Linked DNA regions of Homo sapiens: region 1 is linked to region 2. Evidence: promoter capture Hi-C in human tissues and cell types (Jung and others, 2019). All regions are on one chromosome and are shown on one strand. The core of a region is centred on a gene start or on the middle of the fragment in contact, and the rest is flanking DNA. Distances in the headings are between cores, read along the strand shown.

Region 1 (6,774 bases), core at 3,159-5,658, 150 kb before region 2:
ATATGGTCTCTTACCTGGGGGCTCAAATCTTTTGAAGTGTGTGTCCTAAGAGAGAGCACCAGGTGGAAACTGTATTGCCTTTTACAATCTAGCCTTGGAAGTCATGCAGCGCCACTTCTGCCCCATCCTACTCATTAGAAGTGAGTCACTAAACCCAGCCCTGTTCCATGGGAGGGAAGTTGATGCCACCTCTTGATGAGAGGAGCAGGTCTTCAGCACATTGCTTCCTTCCGGTCCTCCCTCCCTTTCTTCTTTCCATGGGTCACCGATGGTAGAACAGGAAAAAGTCTAGGAGGTAATTGTTTTTTCATTCTGTCTCCAAAATCCCTCACCATTTCTGTATTTCTACAGAGGAAAAACAGAGGCCAAGTAATTTGAATCATTCAACCCATCTCTAATAGTGGAGCCAGCAGTAGAACTCCAGGGCTCTTCAATTTTCTATGGAAAGCAAGAGAATTAAGGGGCCCAACTTATTCCTCCCAGTGTTGTCCAGAGGGACTGGATCAGAAGCTGATGGATTCTTTCCTCTGGCTTGCCAGGCTGGGGCTAGGTGCCCAGCTGTTTGTGATATTATGGAGAGAATTTATGGATGGGTTGAGTGTTGGACAAGAACAGTGTTTTCTAGATCATCATTCTCCAAGCCTGGCAATAAGGTTCTCCCTCTGAGATGGAGTTTAACTTGCAGGATATTTATTCAGGAGAGGCTCTGGGACCAATATCTGTGGAAGGGAGCCACAGTGGATACTACTGGGCATTCTGAAGTGGATTGTTCCTTCAGAGTAGTCCTGAGTGGGGCCAAGCTACAGAGCCTATGTGCACATCCATTTATCAGCCACTGGATGACCTGCCCAAAGGGGCCTGAGCACGGGCTCCAGGTGGCTCTCCACAGCTGACCCATTTCTGAAGGGGCTGATAGTGAAAACTGTCTGCCAGTGAAACTCTTAGCAGCTGAGATTTATTCCTTAAAGTCTTTCTTTAAAGGGGGGTCTGGACAGCCTCCCATAGTGATTTGTTGTGAATCACAAATGACAAGGCCCTGGCCCCCAGAGATTCTGGTTCAGTGGTCTGGGGTCAGGCCTGAGAATTCATGTTTCTTAAAGGCTCTAGGTGACTCTGCACAAGGGGTTTCCGTCATATCAGCTGGACGCTCTGAGGCTCTCCGGAGCAGAATGAGGTGCTAAGGTGTTGTGTCTAAACGCATGGCTTGGTCAAGTGTCCCAGTGCAGTGATCCTCAGAGGGTCAGATGCAGCGAAAGTGAAAATGAGCATGTGGGTTATCCAGACACCCCAAGTTTATCACCCTGTCTGGGCCAGGGTGCATGACGCTCACTCCTGCAAAACAGAGTGAGCAGGCAGGGCTGTTTCTTCCCCCTGCAGCTGGGAAGCCCCAGCCAGCCTGCTCCATTGAACTTTCAGCTCCCGGAGTTGGCTCATTCCCTCCCAGAGAAAACAGCCCTATTATAAACATACAAACTTGAGTTGGGGCGGGGGTCACAGGCTCTTGCCTAAGTCCATCCTGCAAAATTGACTTTTCTGTCAATGAGAACACAGCTCTGCTTTTACCTCTCCTGTGTGCTTTGGCAGTTTCTGCTTGGCTGTAAAATTTATCCAAGGAAAACTGGCATTTATCTTGGGTTCACTTGTACTCAGCAAAACTGATAAACAGATGGGGGCTGGCCAGGCCACGGGCAATTTGGTTAGCACTTTACAAAATACAAATGTCATCCTTTATTTTTACAGGGATTATTTATTGTGAATTAGGAAGTTATTGGTCTGTTATATTCTAACAGGATCATTCACTCCAGTTAAGGGATCCATGTCCCTATTATAAAGTGGTGGGGGGTGTCCTGGGTGGAAGAGACTTTCTGGCATTGTTGGCAATAAAGGAATAAAATGGCCCTGCTGGGTTTGCGTATGCACACACAGGGCACTTATCTGTGAAGACTGTGAAAAAAGAAAGAAGCAAAGAAAGAAATCAACAAGATTTGATGGGGAAGCTTGCAAAGGAGATCAGAATTCAGATCAAATGTCCCACCCCAGTGTCTCTGGAGTTTTTTTTCTTTTGTGTCCCAGCTAAAGGCACTGGGAGGATCAGAGACCTCATCCCAGCTCTGTTTACTTTGGGAACAATCGTTGGTGTATGAATAATAATGCCTCCCTCTGACCATGACTAATTGAATTGCAGCCTGCGGGCAGTGGGGAGGGGCTTTGCCGGGCCAGTCCATCACGGCGTTTCTCAAGTAGCCACCGACAGTGATGGATGCAGCGGCGCTTCCCAGAGTGCATCCTCGAACACCTAAGAGCAGGGGTATGAACCTGCATTCCGAGTTTCTATTAGCCGGGGCCTGGCAGAGAGGACGGGAATGGCGGCAGTTAAAGATGAGTTGGTTGATTAAAAGGAAGAGGAGAGGCAGCCCTTTTCCTAACCTCCTCCTCCCACACCTGATTTTAAGCAAGTTTTGTTCATGGGGACAAATGAGAAAATATTCATCGTGTGACCATGCAGGCCTCAGTGGGGCCACCTCTGCTGAGGCCGTGCCTGTTAAAAGTACTGGGCTTGTTTGGGGTGCAGTGGGAACCCTGGCTTGGAAAACAAAAAAGGCAAAACAGCCAAAGATTTGTCCTGTTAGAGGATGTTTAGAAGCCAACAAATGAGGTAGAAGAGGAGACAGAAAGACAAGAGAGAAGTAGGGGCAGTTGGAAACGGAGTCTATGGCCATGTCTATAATCCAACAATGGATCACACAGGGACCCTAACATTTGGTCGTCCTGTTGTCTGCGCTGTGTTTACACAGCAGAACCATGCAGCTGGGGCCCTGGGCTCAGTCGGACTTTGTTCTCACAGCATGAAGGTGACCCCTGGTGAACTGCGATCCGGGAAGCTTGTGCAGCCCAGCAGTCTCTATGGTGGTCTGGACACAGGGGAAGTCGTCCAATTACAGGGTCACTGCTTTCTATCTCAGTCGGATTTAGTCCGGGCCAAACCCCAGATTGGCACCTTTTTATGAGAGCTGTGCACGCCACCCTGGCTCCTTTTGGTGGCAGAGGCTGGCTGAAACTCCAGGCGGATTTTGGAGGCAGATGCTGGCTTTAAGGGAGCTTTGGTTGGCCTGCTCCTCTTGGAAAGCCCTGATAAAAGCATTCGGGGCAGGGGCTATACTTCTCTTGTATCTAAAATCCTGAAATTTTAAATCCCTCCAAACAGTTTCTTATAACTTTTTTGTTAGCTTACTATGCTTTAAAAATTATCCATAGGTCTTAGTACCAACAGTCATTTTACTGCACAGAAGTTTCTCAGCTCCCTTCTCTTATTTAAGAATGAGATACTCTCTGCCCATTCTGAACTTTACAGGAATAACTCAGGGTGTCTTGTTCTTATAAATAAAAAATTTTTAAAAAATCTTCTAATATGTTTCTATTTTATCTATCAATCCATTGATCTATATGTTTATTTATCCATCTGATTATCTATCTATCTATTTATCTATCTATCTATCTATCTATCTATCTATCTATCTATCTATCTATCTAATCTATCTGCTTTCCTACTTATCTTGGTGAATAAAATAAAGCCAGGAAAGAAAGGCAGGTGTGTTAAGGGAGCCGTCTATTCCTCTGGCATGAGTAGGGTGCAGGATGTAGTATCATGCAGCTGGTATTATGAGCTGTTGGAGGCAATTTCAAATCGATGCATAAAAATTATCTCCCCAGTATGTCCTGAATCCTAACCCCACTTGACCAAATGAACAATAAGACATTCAAGCAAAATAAGTAGTTTCCTGGTGCCTGTACCAAATGTGAAATATTTTCAACCCCTCAAATCCAGGCCGTTATAGCATTTTAGTCTCTGGTTTTCAACCCCCAGCCCAACCTACTAAACAAACATTGTGACCACCCTGGCGTGGGCCACACTCCTGGGGTTAAGATATTCCACCTAAAATCCCTTCAGTCTCTTTGAGCTGATATTCATGGACACTATTCTTGTGCTTTGAATACAAAACAAAGGGAGATGGAGCTGGCTTAGCTGCTGCAAAAGTGAGGGGAAGGAATGGTAAGAAGATGCATTTATGCCTGCAATTTGTCTTTAGAAAATAAATATTTCAAACATTTACTCAGAAACCAGGTTTTACTGTTTGTTATGAAGCAGCAGGATTTATTAAGAGAAAGCAGAAATCAGTGTAATTTATGGAAAGATGGCTGAAGACAGCCTATGTGGGCCCTGAAGCTGACCAAATTCTAATAGTCACCCTCCTTGGGTTCAGATGCATGGAGGAAAGCTGCGTCTTGAAATTGAGGGGGCTTTGAGTAGGACCACCACATAGTATCTTCACCACCCCAATAACCCTATTATAACTTCGTGCTTTGAATCTAGATGGCATCTGTACATCCCCACTCCTGCATTGCATTGAAATAAGGCTTGAAGGAGTATTTAAGAAGAAATTGATCAGGATACAGGGTGGAGAGTGCTAGGGAGGAAGGTAGGGTGTTCCAAGAAGAGGGCAGAGAGTAACTCAAAGAGAGAACAAGAATCAAAGGTATATTCCTATTCCTGCACAGTTGTCACTGGGGCCAGCCTGCAAAGCTGAGAGCAAGACTGATATCCTTCTACCAACTCTTAGTGGTCTAGCAGATGAAACCAAGTTAGAAATAGAACAATATTTTTCTGTAAAAGTGAATTCTTGTTAGTTACTTGAGATAACAGTGAAAGAATGACACTTTAATCTCTATGCTTCCTGTGGGCTATGCTCTAAGCACTTCCAATCTTCCACGTTCATGTTAATCCTCCCAACAATCTTGGAAGTGGATGTTATCATTTCCACTTTAGGCAATCAAGGCACAGAGAGGTCAAGTATATGCCAGGTGGTCTGTCCTCTAACAACCCAGGGGGCTGTCCTCAGGACTCTGGATGCAACCGTAACGGGGACACATTGCCCTCTGACCACTGGGATGGGTGCCTGAAGTTTCTGAAAATATTCCTCAAACTTGAAATACACTCAAACTAGAGAGTATTTAGTGGCTAGCAGAATTTGAATACAGCAAAATGGATAAAAACTTTTTTTTTAAAACTAACTAGTAATATTCAAATGGTCATATCCTTTTCACTTAGTAATTCTACTTCTGTGTGTTCCTTCTATTGAAAAACATGCAATTTTGCAAAGATCTGTTCAACCACAGTCATTGCAGTTTTATATGAGAGAGCAATGTTCCAGACTTTCTTGAAACACCACAAATGCCCTTCCAAAGAGGATCGTTGAGATAAACTATTTCATATGCTAGATATCTGCTAAAAGTACCAAGATTCATGCACTTAGCCTAAAATAGAAAATTCTCCATGATATTTTAAGTGAATAAAGAACCATAGAGAAACATCCCCATTTTATAAAATAATAATCACATAGGGCTATCCATGGAAAACATTCTGAAAGCAAATTCTCCAGTCAGTCAGTTATGGTCACCTCTGGGGTTGGGATCAGGGAAATATCCACTGTCTATGCTATACTTTATTCTGTAAATCTTTATTTCTTAATGAATATGTACTGTTAACAGAAAAAAAAGGAATGCAAAAGTTGTTGCTTAGCTCAGAAAATACCCAGTTGATCACCGCTGTCATCTAGCAATCGTATTTTTAAAAAACCATGTGCTGTGAGGTTATATAAGTTAGGTTCTTAATAGAATTTTTCTTATTATTCAAGAGGTTAATCATACCTGTTACCATGTATTCTGACAGCTGTTTCTGAGCCCTCTTTCCCGCTGCTCTAATGTCTATATTTTAGTAAAGTCTATTTTCAATATGAGTTCCATATTTCTGACCTATTCTCTAAAATTTGTTTGGAACCCCCACATCTTCATTCATGCCTTTTTGCACCCATTCACAGACATGCATAGTGTGGCAAAAATTTGAGTCATCCAAAGTACCTATTCTCAGATGAGGTGGAACAAGCTCCCATTCTGCCTTCCTGTTTTAGCTCTCAGACTATATATGAGTGTTCTTCTGTAGTCCATTCAGTGACATGATTTTTTTTTTACATTTTTGTGCTTTTTAATGGTAATTTTACTATTGAAAATGGCCCTCAAACATGGTGCTGAAGTACTGGCTATTGTCCCTAAGCCTGGGAAAGCTGGGATGCACCTTACAGAGAAAACAAGATGTGTTAGACAAGCTTTCTTCAAACTGCTGTTTGCTATGACTTCATGGTAAATGAATCAACCCTATATAGGAAATAAGGTGTCTTCTTATTTAAGTAAGTGGAAACACTCATAATACAATGTATGGATCCATTGTGGAAATGTTGTGACCAGAGGCTTGCAGGAACTTAACTCTATATTTCCTTTAGGAGCAGTGGGTTGCTAATACAGTGTTTGCAGCAACTTCATAGAACATAACTAGAGTGAATGAGGGAAACGGACTGTACTTTAGTCTGGGCGGCATGATCACAAGCAGGGAGTTCGGAGCTTAAGTCCTACCCCAGTGCTTTTGTGGCCCTGACCGTCACACTCCAGGGGTGCTAAGCCAGAATCTAAACAGCCACAGGCTGGCCAGTGGTAGCTGCTGAGAGTGCTCCTGCTATCTACACCTCCGCCAATGCCAGAAGCTTTGCCAAACAGCACACTGGGAGTCAGAGGTGGGATTCTGTTGATGACGTCAGTGGTACTCAAGATACGAGAAAATGTAGAGATGGTCGACCTCCCTGGAGGGTCTGTTAGCCTAGCAAAGCCCATTTCCATGCTCTTAGGAGTGGTTCCCAAATTAAGCTGGTGTCAGGCATTCACAGA
Region 2 (7,662 bases), core at 511-3,010:
CGTACATGGGGCTCATGGAGTTCATGTTGGCGTAGGGGGCCAGGCCGCCCATGGCCCCGGCCGCCTGCCCCCCGAGCGGGCTCAGGCTGGGACTCAAGTGCGGCCCCATGCCCGCCACGCCGGCCGCCCCGGCCGAGCCGCCCATGCCCGCCATGGCGCCCGCGCCGGGGGACATCCCCGCCAGGGACGGGCTCATGCCAGCGCCCACGTACGACGACATGTTCATGGAGCCCGCGCTCATGTTGCCCGAGCCGCTGCCCATGGCGGCCGCCGACATGCTCATGTACGTGTTCATGCCGTTCATCCCCAGGCCGGCGTTCATGTTGCTCACGGAGGAGTAGCCCTGCGGACAGAGCCCCGGGAGGGAGGCGACAGCGTTAGCACCGCGGCTGGAGGGTGCCCAGACCTCCCACCCACCGCCCAGGCCTCCGCGTCCGGGGAGGCCTCCGGGGAGCCCTTTCGTCCCCGATGGCCCAGTCTCCGGACTCCGAGTCTGTTTCATTCAGGGAGAGTCATGATCGATCGCCCTTGGGAAGGTGGCGAGCGGATTGCTGCTTGGGCATGTGGCCCGTTCCTAGCCCTTCTCCACCTCGCCCAGATTCTAGAACAGGGGTCCCATGGAGTACTCCCAAGCCAGCACCCCAAATACATTCCCCTACCCCAGAGTCTCCCCAAACTCTCCCACCAGCATACTGAGCTGGCGCCGAGGCCCGAAGTCCCCGGACGCCACCTCCGGTCGCAGCAAGCAACCTGCGGGACAACGCGCGGGGCGCCTCGGGCTGCCTCCAGCGAAGACTGTCCCGGGCCCCCTCTGTCCGGTCTCCCTCCAGGGACCCCCTCCCTTGTCCCAGGGAAACTGCAAGGCAGTGCCTGTGCGGAGTGCGGGGGCGGCTGGAGGCACTGAACGGGGCAATAGGGAAAGAACCGAGACCTGAACCACACGCGGCTGAGCTTTGCAGGCAAAAACTTTCTTTCTCTTTGTCCACTAGTCTTTGACTCTGCCTCCACTTCAGCCCCCAACTCCTACCCATCTTCTCCTCCTCAGCTCCCCACCCCCTCGCCGGCCGACCTCCCACCCCTCCCCAGCCGCGCGCTGCCAAACATAACTCTGTTAGGATAGTGCGTGGCTCGGCCACGAAGAGGATTTGGAGGCGCCGCAAGTCAATATTTGATCACAAAGTTAATATTATCTCAAGGCTAACAGTGTGTCGTATAAAAAAGAGACCCATTTGATTCCAAGGAGGGCGGAAAAGGCGGCTGCCCAGAAAGGCTGGGGTTGTGGGGCGGGGTGGGGGGGTGCCAGCGAGGGAAGCGGTCCTGAGGTTGGGGAAGGAGCGAGCGCCGCCGCTCCACTTCCCCCTGGAAAAGACGAGCGCTTACCTCGGGCTCTGCATAGTAGCTGCTCCAGTCGGACGGCTCGTGCCCTTCCATCTTCACCGCTCCCAGCATACTGGAAGCCGAGTGCATGGCAGTTTAAAATTTAACAGCCACAACAAACGACCAGCAATCACCCCCCACCCCCACCCTCTTTTAAAAAAAAGTCAGCCAAAGCACCGTCCCCTCCTCCCTCCCTCTCTCGCGCTCCCTCTCCCTGGGCTCCACTCCCTCTCTCTCCCTGGGCAGGCCGGAGGCGGTAGTTGGAAGTGGGCGGGAGGTGGGGGGGGGCGAGGAGCGGAGGAGGCCCAGGCCAGCGCCCCGCGGTAGGGAGCACCCGCCGCCGCCGCGCTCACGGGCTGCCGGGTGGCGGCTGAGGTTGGCAGTGCCGAGCTGCCCCGAGGCGGCGGGAAGCGCGCGGCGCGGGGGCTAGTGGGGGGGTGGGGAGGAGGAGGAGGAAGGAGGAGGAGGAGGCGGTGGTGGTGGTGGAGGAGGAGGAGGAGGAGGAGGAGGAGGAGGAGGAGGAGGAGGTGTGGACCGCGGAGCGGACAAGTGCCGCAGTGACGTGGGAGGCTGGTGATATAGCGCGGCGCGCTGGCGCGGGCCTCCAATCCCCAGACCCGGGGCAGCCCATTTGAATAATCAGCTCACACCTAGGTGAGAGGTAGCCGCAGCCGGCGCTCCGCACCTGCCCCTCAGCGCCTGCCGTCCGCCCCACCGCCGCGGCGCCCCGCACTCCTGGGCGGGCCAGGGGAGCGGGCTGGGCGGGCGATCGGGCACGCGGGATCCCTGGTCGAGCCCCCTTTCCTCCCGGGTCCACAGCGAGTCCCCTGAGGAAGGAGGGACCTGGGAGGAAACCACCCTCTGGGGCGGCTCCGGCCTCCAGCCCCCGCCCCGTCTCATCGCGCCGGGCGCCCGGTGCGCCTGTCGGAGGGCGCGTCCAGCCTCAGTGCCCGGCAGATCCCTATGAAAGCCGGATTTATTTATGCCGGGTTTCTTCGCTCTCAGTGCTCATTCTCTGTCAAAACAGCAAGTCCATGACAGCCAATTTGCAAAGCGCTGTCCTATTTAGAAAAACTACGTACACACCTTTAACTCGCCCGCTGCTGCTCCTGCGAGGCCCCTCCCTGTTACAGTTCAGACCCGGAACGGCCTCGGGAGAAGCGCGGGGCGCACGGTCTGGCCGCCTCGGCTCTCCGACTCCTCAGACACCGGCCGCCAGGGACCCGCAGTGGGGCGGCCGGCGCCTGGCGCAAGCAGCCCCTCTAGCAGCGGCCGACGGTTGGGAGGCTGAGATTTGTCTCTGATATTCAGGCCGGCGTGTTTCAAGGTTACTTTTCAGTCACAACCGAGGTGCCCACAGCATTTCGTAACTAAAACAAACAGGGCAGGAGGTGGGGAGGGAGGGGTGAGGAGAGAAGAATCCAGGAATCAATGATGGGGCATATGGAGTTGACTTCAAGAGCGTCTCTGTCCTCTCTGTCTTCCAGAGGGACTGCTTAATAGAAATTAGAAACTCCAGCAATCGTATACTTTTATTTCCCCAGCAGCTCTTGGGTTCAAAAATTGTCTTCTGTTCTGGGTTAGCCTGTGAGCCCAGATTTGGAGTGGGGGGATATTGCAGGTGTTTGGATGTGGAGGCTCTTTCTTGGTTCTGAAAACCTGGCTGGACCTTGGGGATCCAGCCCTGTACCCACCCCCTCAGACACAGAGAATGCATAGGAACTAGTGGGCATCCAGCCCACCTGTCCAAAATTGGGGGCGATGGTGGCAGAAGACAGGCGAGATGGCAGACACGGAGCTTCGCATTGAAGCTTGAGTAAGGGTGAGGCTGGAAGGCAAGCGAGGAGGTAGCAGTAGGCACAGGGGAACCACTTCCCTAACCCCAGGACTCTCAGGTCTGCACGGTTTGGGACACAGAAGGAAGCCGCCGGCAGCATCTTTTGCTGCTGAAATGCAGATGGTTTGGACACTTCATAAAGAGGGCATTAATAAGCCCGCCGAGTGAGCGCCAGGGCGGGATTCTCCCACAAATTCAAGGTCTGTATCTCCGCGGAAGCCGTGCCTATCGGTCCCCCGAGTGCTGAAGGCTCCCACGAGGGGCAGGCCAGCCCGGTGCGCCAGGGAAGGAGCTTGATGGTGTGTACGGCTACGTAGTGAACGTGGAGGTGTGCGCAGCGGAGTCAGAGGGGCTAGATCCCCAGCATTTCCCACGGGGTCCCACCTAGCGCGTGGATGGGAGCAACTTCATCACTCCACCGAGGGCAGGGAAAGAGGAGTAAGCATTGGAGCTCAAAGAATGAGCAATTTTTCAAAGCTTTCTCCGCAGGCCTGGGCAGACACACACGCACACACACACACACCGCACCCCCAAAACTCAAAAGAATGTTATGGTTGACCTAGTCTGTGCGTGTGCTGTATGAGAGTATTTGTGAGCTTATGTGGGTGCCCACTTCCCTTTCTATTTTGCTCCTGGGTGGAAATTTGGTCCCAGAAATTATTCCAGGAACAGAAGGAGCGAGCTGGAGGGCCGCAGGAGAAGGGGGCGCTACACTTCCAAGGAGCGGACTTTGGAAGCCCCCACCTCCACCACAGCACTATTGGTGGCCGGGGTCAGGGACACCAGAGAGCGCTCGGCGGGGGCTTCCACAGTGACAGGGCGCCCCCTGTCGGCCGCCAGGCCCGCGGGACCGACCCGAGTCCTCATTTACCCCCGCGATCCCAACCCCGCAGCTCCGGCACCGGAGCACCTTCTCCCCCGCTCTCCCAGTCTCTCCGAAAACGCCTTCGGGGGGACTCGGCCTTTTTGGAGCCCCAACCCCTAGGTTCTGCGCGAACCCAAAACGGCCTCCTGCACCCTGGCGAGGTTCTGGGAGCTCCGGTAGGGTAGGGCTGGATGACGCCTCCTAGAGTCTCGGAGCAGCCGCTCCCGCACCCTCCCGGCACGCCTGCCCATGGGAATGCGAGCGGGGTCTACGGTTAGCTTTAGGTAGCTGGGAGCGGGACACCAACGGGCTGCGAAGGAAGCAGGGACGTTCAGACAGCCTGGGGTTCGCGTTCCCTTCCAGCTCAGCGGTCTTTGGAGCTCCTCCTTCCCGGAGTTCTGATTTCTAAAGGGCTATCCAGAGTTCTGGCTCAGGCTTGAATGCTGAAGATTGCTCCCGGAGTTTCTCTCCAGGAAAAAGTTCGCGGGGACCTCGGGCTGCAGATGTTTCTCCCAATCCCTCTTTAGTCTACCCTCATGTAGGGCCGAGACCTACAGAGCCCTTCCCTTTCCATTTTGTTAGGTCACCGCCGGCTTCTATAATAAAGCTGCTTTATAACTGAGGACTGTGCTTGGGGTTAGCATGCTATTTTTATTTTGGATGTTGCCTCAATGGCAAAGTCATAAGACTCGAGTTCAAATCCAGGCCTCCTCTGCTCTCCCTGGGAAGAAAACACCCAGGCCATCCAGGTCTCCTAGGCCTTCATCTTGCTGGAACAATCTGCGTTCCCCTAGCAAAAGTCCTCCCTAGAGCTCTCTTTGTCACATGAAACCAACCAGTGCAGAAGGGGCATCATTGAACAGAACTCAATTTTCCTAAGTGAGAACCCATGAAATACCTAAGGAGAAAAACAATAAAAGTCCCATTAATACTCCAATTCCTAAAACCTTTCAGAGAATAAATACCCAGGCAAGGCCTTGCTCAAAGTTCCCCAGCGTGTTTAGGGCAACATAAGGCAGATATGTAGGCAAGATGAAGGCAGAGGGGATGGAAAAGTGACAGCACAGTCTTGGGAAAGTATGCATTTTTACTTTCTTATAAACTTTTTAATTGGTAAAAAAGCAGATGTCCAAACACCCCTTATTCATTCTCTGGATGAATCTCAAGTCTCAATGAAGAAAAGGCATATCGTGTGTCAAAGATTATAATCAACATTTCACTTTCTTTGGGTGGGTTATTATTTCTGAAATGTACTGAAAAATCAGCCAGGCGCAATGGCTCATGCCTGTAATCCCAGCACTTTGGGAGGCCGGGGCGGGCGGATCACCTTAGGTCAGGAGTTCAAGACCAGCCTGACAAACATGGTGAAAACCCATCTTTATTAAAAATACGAAATTAACAGGATGTGGTGGCCCATGCCTATAATCCCAGCTACTTCGGGGGCTGAGGCAGGAGAATCGCTTGAACCCGGGAGGCAGAGGTTGCAGTAAGCTGAGATCGCACCATTGCACTCCAGCCTGGGCAACAAGAGCAAAACTCAATCTCAAAAAAAAAAAAAAAAAAAAAATTAGACCATCAAAATTTGTCTACTTGGCACTGAGCACACCTTCAAACACTTATGTTGGCTTTCAAAGTTCTTGGATGGTCAAAAGACCAGTTGTTTACGGAGAGGGCAATTGAAAAGGTCATTAGCTAAGAACACCTTATCAGAGGGTATTTATGTAAAAGAATAAAAAAATTCAGCATGTTGCAGCCTTCAGCAAAGGCTCAGGAAAATGCTGATAAAGGGGGAGGCAAGGTGCAACATTTTAAGTTTAATACTGTGTGCACCTGCATGCAATTTATCTCTCCACCGCAAGATCCACAGGAAAAGATGAAACATACATTTTTAAAATGAGAAAATAAAATGAATTAAATAAATACGATGTTAGTAACCTTGATTATGTTTGGGTGGTAGAATTATATCTTCAATCTATGTTTTTAGAAGTATGGGTGGTATCATTTTATATCACTACTTTATTATTACATTCTCTTTTACTATTTTATGGTGAAATATGTAATAAGGATATTGGATCTGATGTTAAGGAAACTTTGGCAAAATAACTTGTGCAAATATTCATTCAGTTCTCATCCTTGAAAGGAGATCAGAGAAGCCACCATACAAACTGACGACAGGTTTGAGTTCTGAAAAACAAGGCATTATTATTTTGTCTTACTGGTATCAGGGGATGAACTGTGATTTTCCCTGAGTTGAGAGAGGAAGAGAAGAAATATTCATGTCAACCACAGGTATTGACTTACCAGGGTGGTTTCTGCATATTGTTTAGGGGAAGGAGACAGACTCTGTCCTCTGGGTGGGGTGCCTTTAAGATGGATCTGGCACACAGATCTCTTGCTTTATGCATGTAGAATTTGATCGTTGTGCCGAAGGTTGGGTTTCAGTTATGGATTGTCCATCTTTTATGGGACTTCTCAGTGGATGGATTGAGCAGTTGCGGATTCCACTCCCATCTGTGGAGGTCTGTGAAGAAAGCCAGTGCTCTGCCCATTCTGGGCCAGGGTTTGACAAATATTTCTGGTATATATTTGACAACCTGTTCACCATTCTTGTGTTTTTAGCACATTTCTGGTATGTGGGACTATTATAGCAGGTAATTAAAATAATTGGAAGAGATAAAAATAAAAAATGACAAGTTTTAGTAGCAATAACAACATGCCAACCTGAGTGAGAATAAACTTCTCTTTGAGGGATGCTTAAATTAGATGCATCTGCATTTGTGGCCCTGGGAGCTATTTCATACATTTGGATGTTATTCTTGGGAGAAATCTCAGTTATTCCTGCCAAACAGGCAAGCAGTAAGCTTCATGAAGGACAAGAGTCATGGGGCGTCAGTCATAGACTACCTGGAGAATCCAAACCCAGGCATTCTTTCTTAGGATACCATTAGGCCTATGAGCTGCTGATTACTTAGTTGGATAAACAAATGCACTTTCAACAAGTATGAAACAATGCAGCATACGAGAGACATGGAGATCAGAAAGAAGCCACTAAGTCCTGGGTTTCCTGGCTGATGCTTAGGAAGCAGTTGTTTGCTTCTCGTTTCCATCTCAAATGGTACACAGTCTCTGAATCAACAAAAAGAGCTATATATAACTTGCTCTAATATTAAGCAATGACAAGGATGGGGAGTTTATATGTTTTGGATTCATTCAGCAAATATTTAATGAGCACTTACTATATTCCAGATGGTGGACAAATAGGCAAAGCCATGGGCTTCTAGAAACTAAGTCTGTTTTCCTCTTTTACTTCCACCTTTTCTCCCTTTTTCTGCCTCAGGTCCCAGCCTCTTTACTTTTAAGCCTTCTTCCAATCATGACCTTGGAATTTCCAAGTGCTAAAATCCTATTCCAAAGGGAAAATTATACATTTCACCATTCTAAAATAGTCTAGCTGCGGGCAGAGATGGACTAAAACCCAAGGCGAAGAGCCTGGTTTGACCCAGAATCAATAGAAAAAACAAGGGCTCAGCTGTCATATAGACAAGCAGCCCTGCAGTAGCCCAATTCTCTCCTGTCGCCATTG

The links. The method cuts DNA at HindIII sites, captures the fragments that hold promoters and counts their contacts. A contact is called where the count stands out against the background at its distance.
Region 1: a contact is called between a fragment that was not itself captured here and the fragment with the promoter of FOXA2 in region 2, in 1 of the 25 tissues and cell types used here (thymus).

Annotation. Positions count from the first base shown.
Region 1 is chr20:22,428,095-22,434,868 of GRCh38, forward strand. No RefSeq gene overlaps it. Among named protein-coding and RNA genes, the nearest start is that of LINC00261, 150 kb to the right of the region's middle. RefSeq lists an enhancer at 2,718-2,862 and a cis regulatory region at 2,785-2,796. The HindIII fragment of the contact is 3,938 bases long and covers 2,440-6,377 here.
Region 2 is chr20:22,582,812-22,590,473 of GRCh38, forward strand. It overlaps FOXA2 (forkhead box A2), which reads right to left and starts at 1,761. Exons shown (of 2, transcript NM_021784.5): 1 at 1,381-1,761; 2 at 1-343. The coding sequence starts at 1,467. It overlaps LNCNEF (lncRNA neighboring enhancer of FOXA2), which reads right to left. Exons shown (of 3, transcript NR_109883.1): 2 at 6,381-6,600; 3 at 4,711-4,977. RefSeq lists enhancers at 1-366, 1,791-2,546, 3,302-4,057, 4,058-4,812. The HindIII fragment of the contact is 10,630 bases long and covers 1-3,439 here.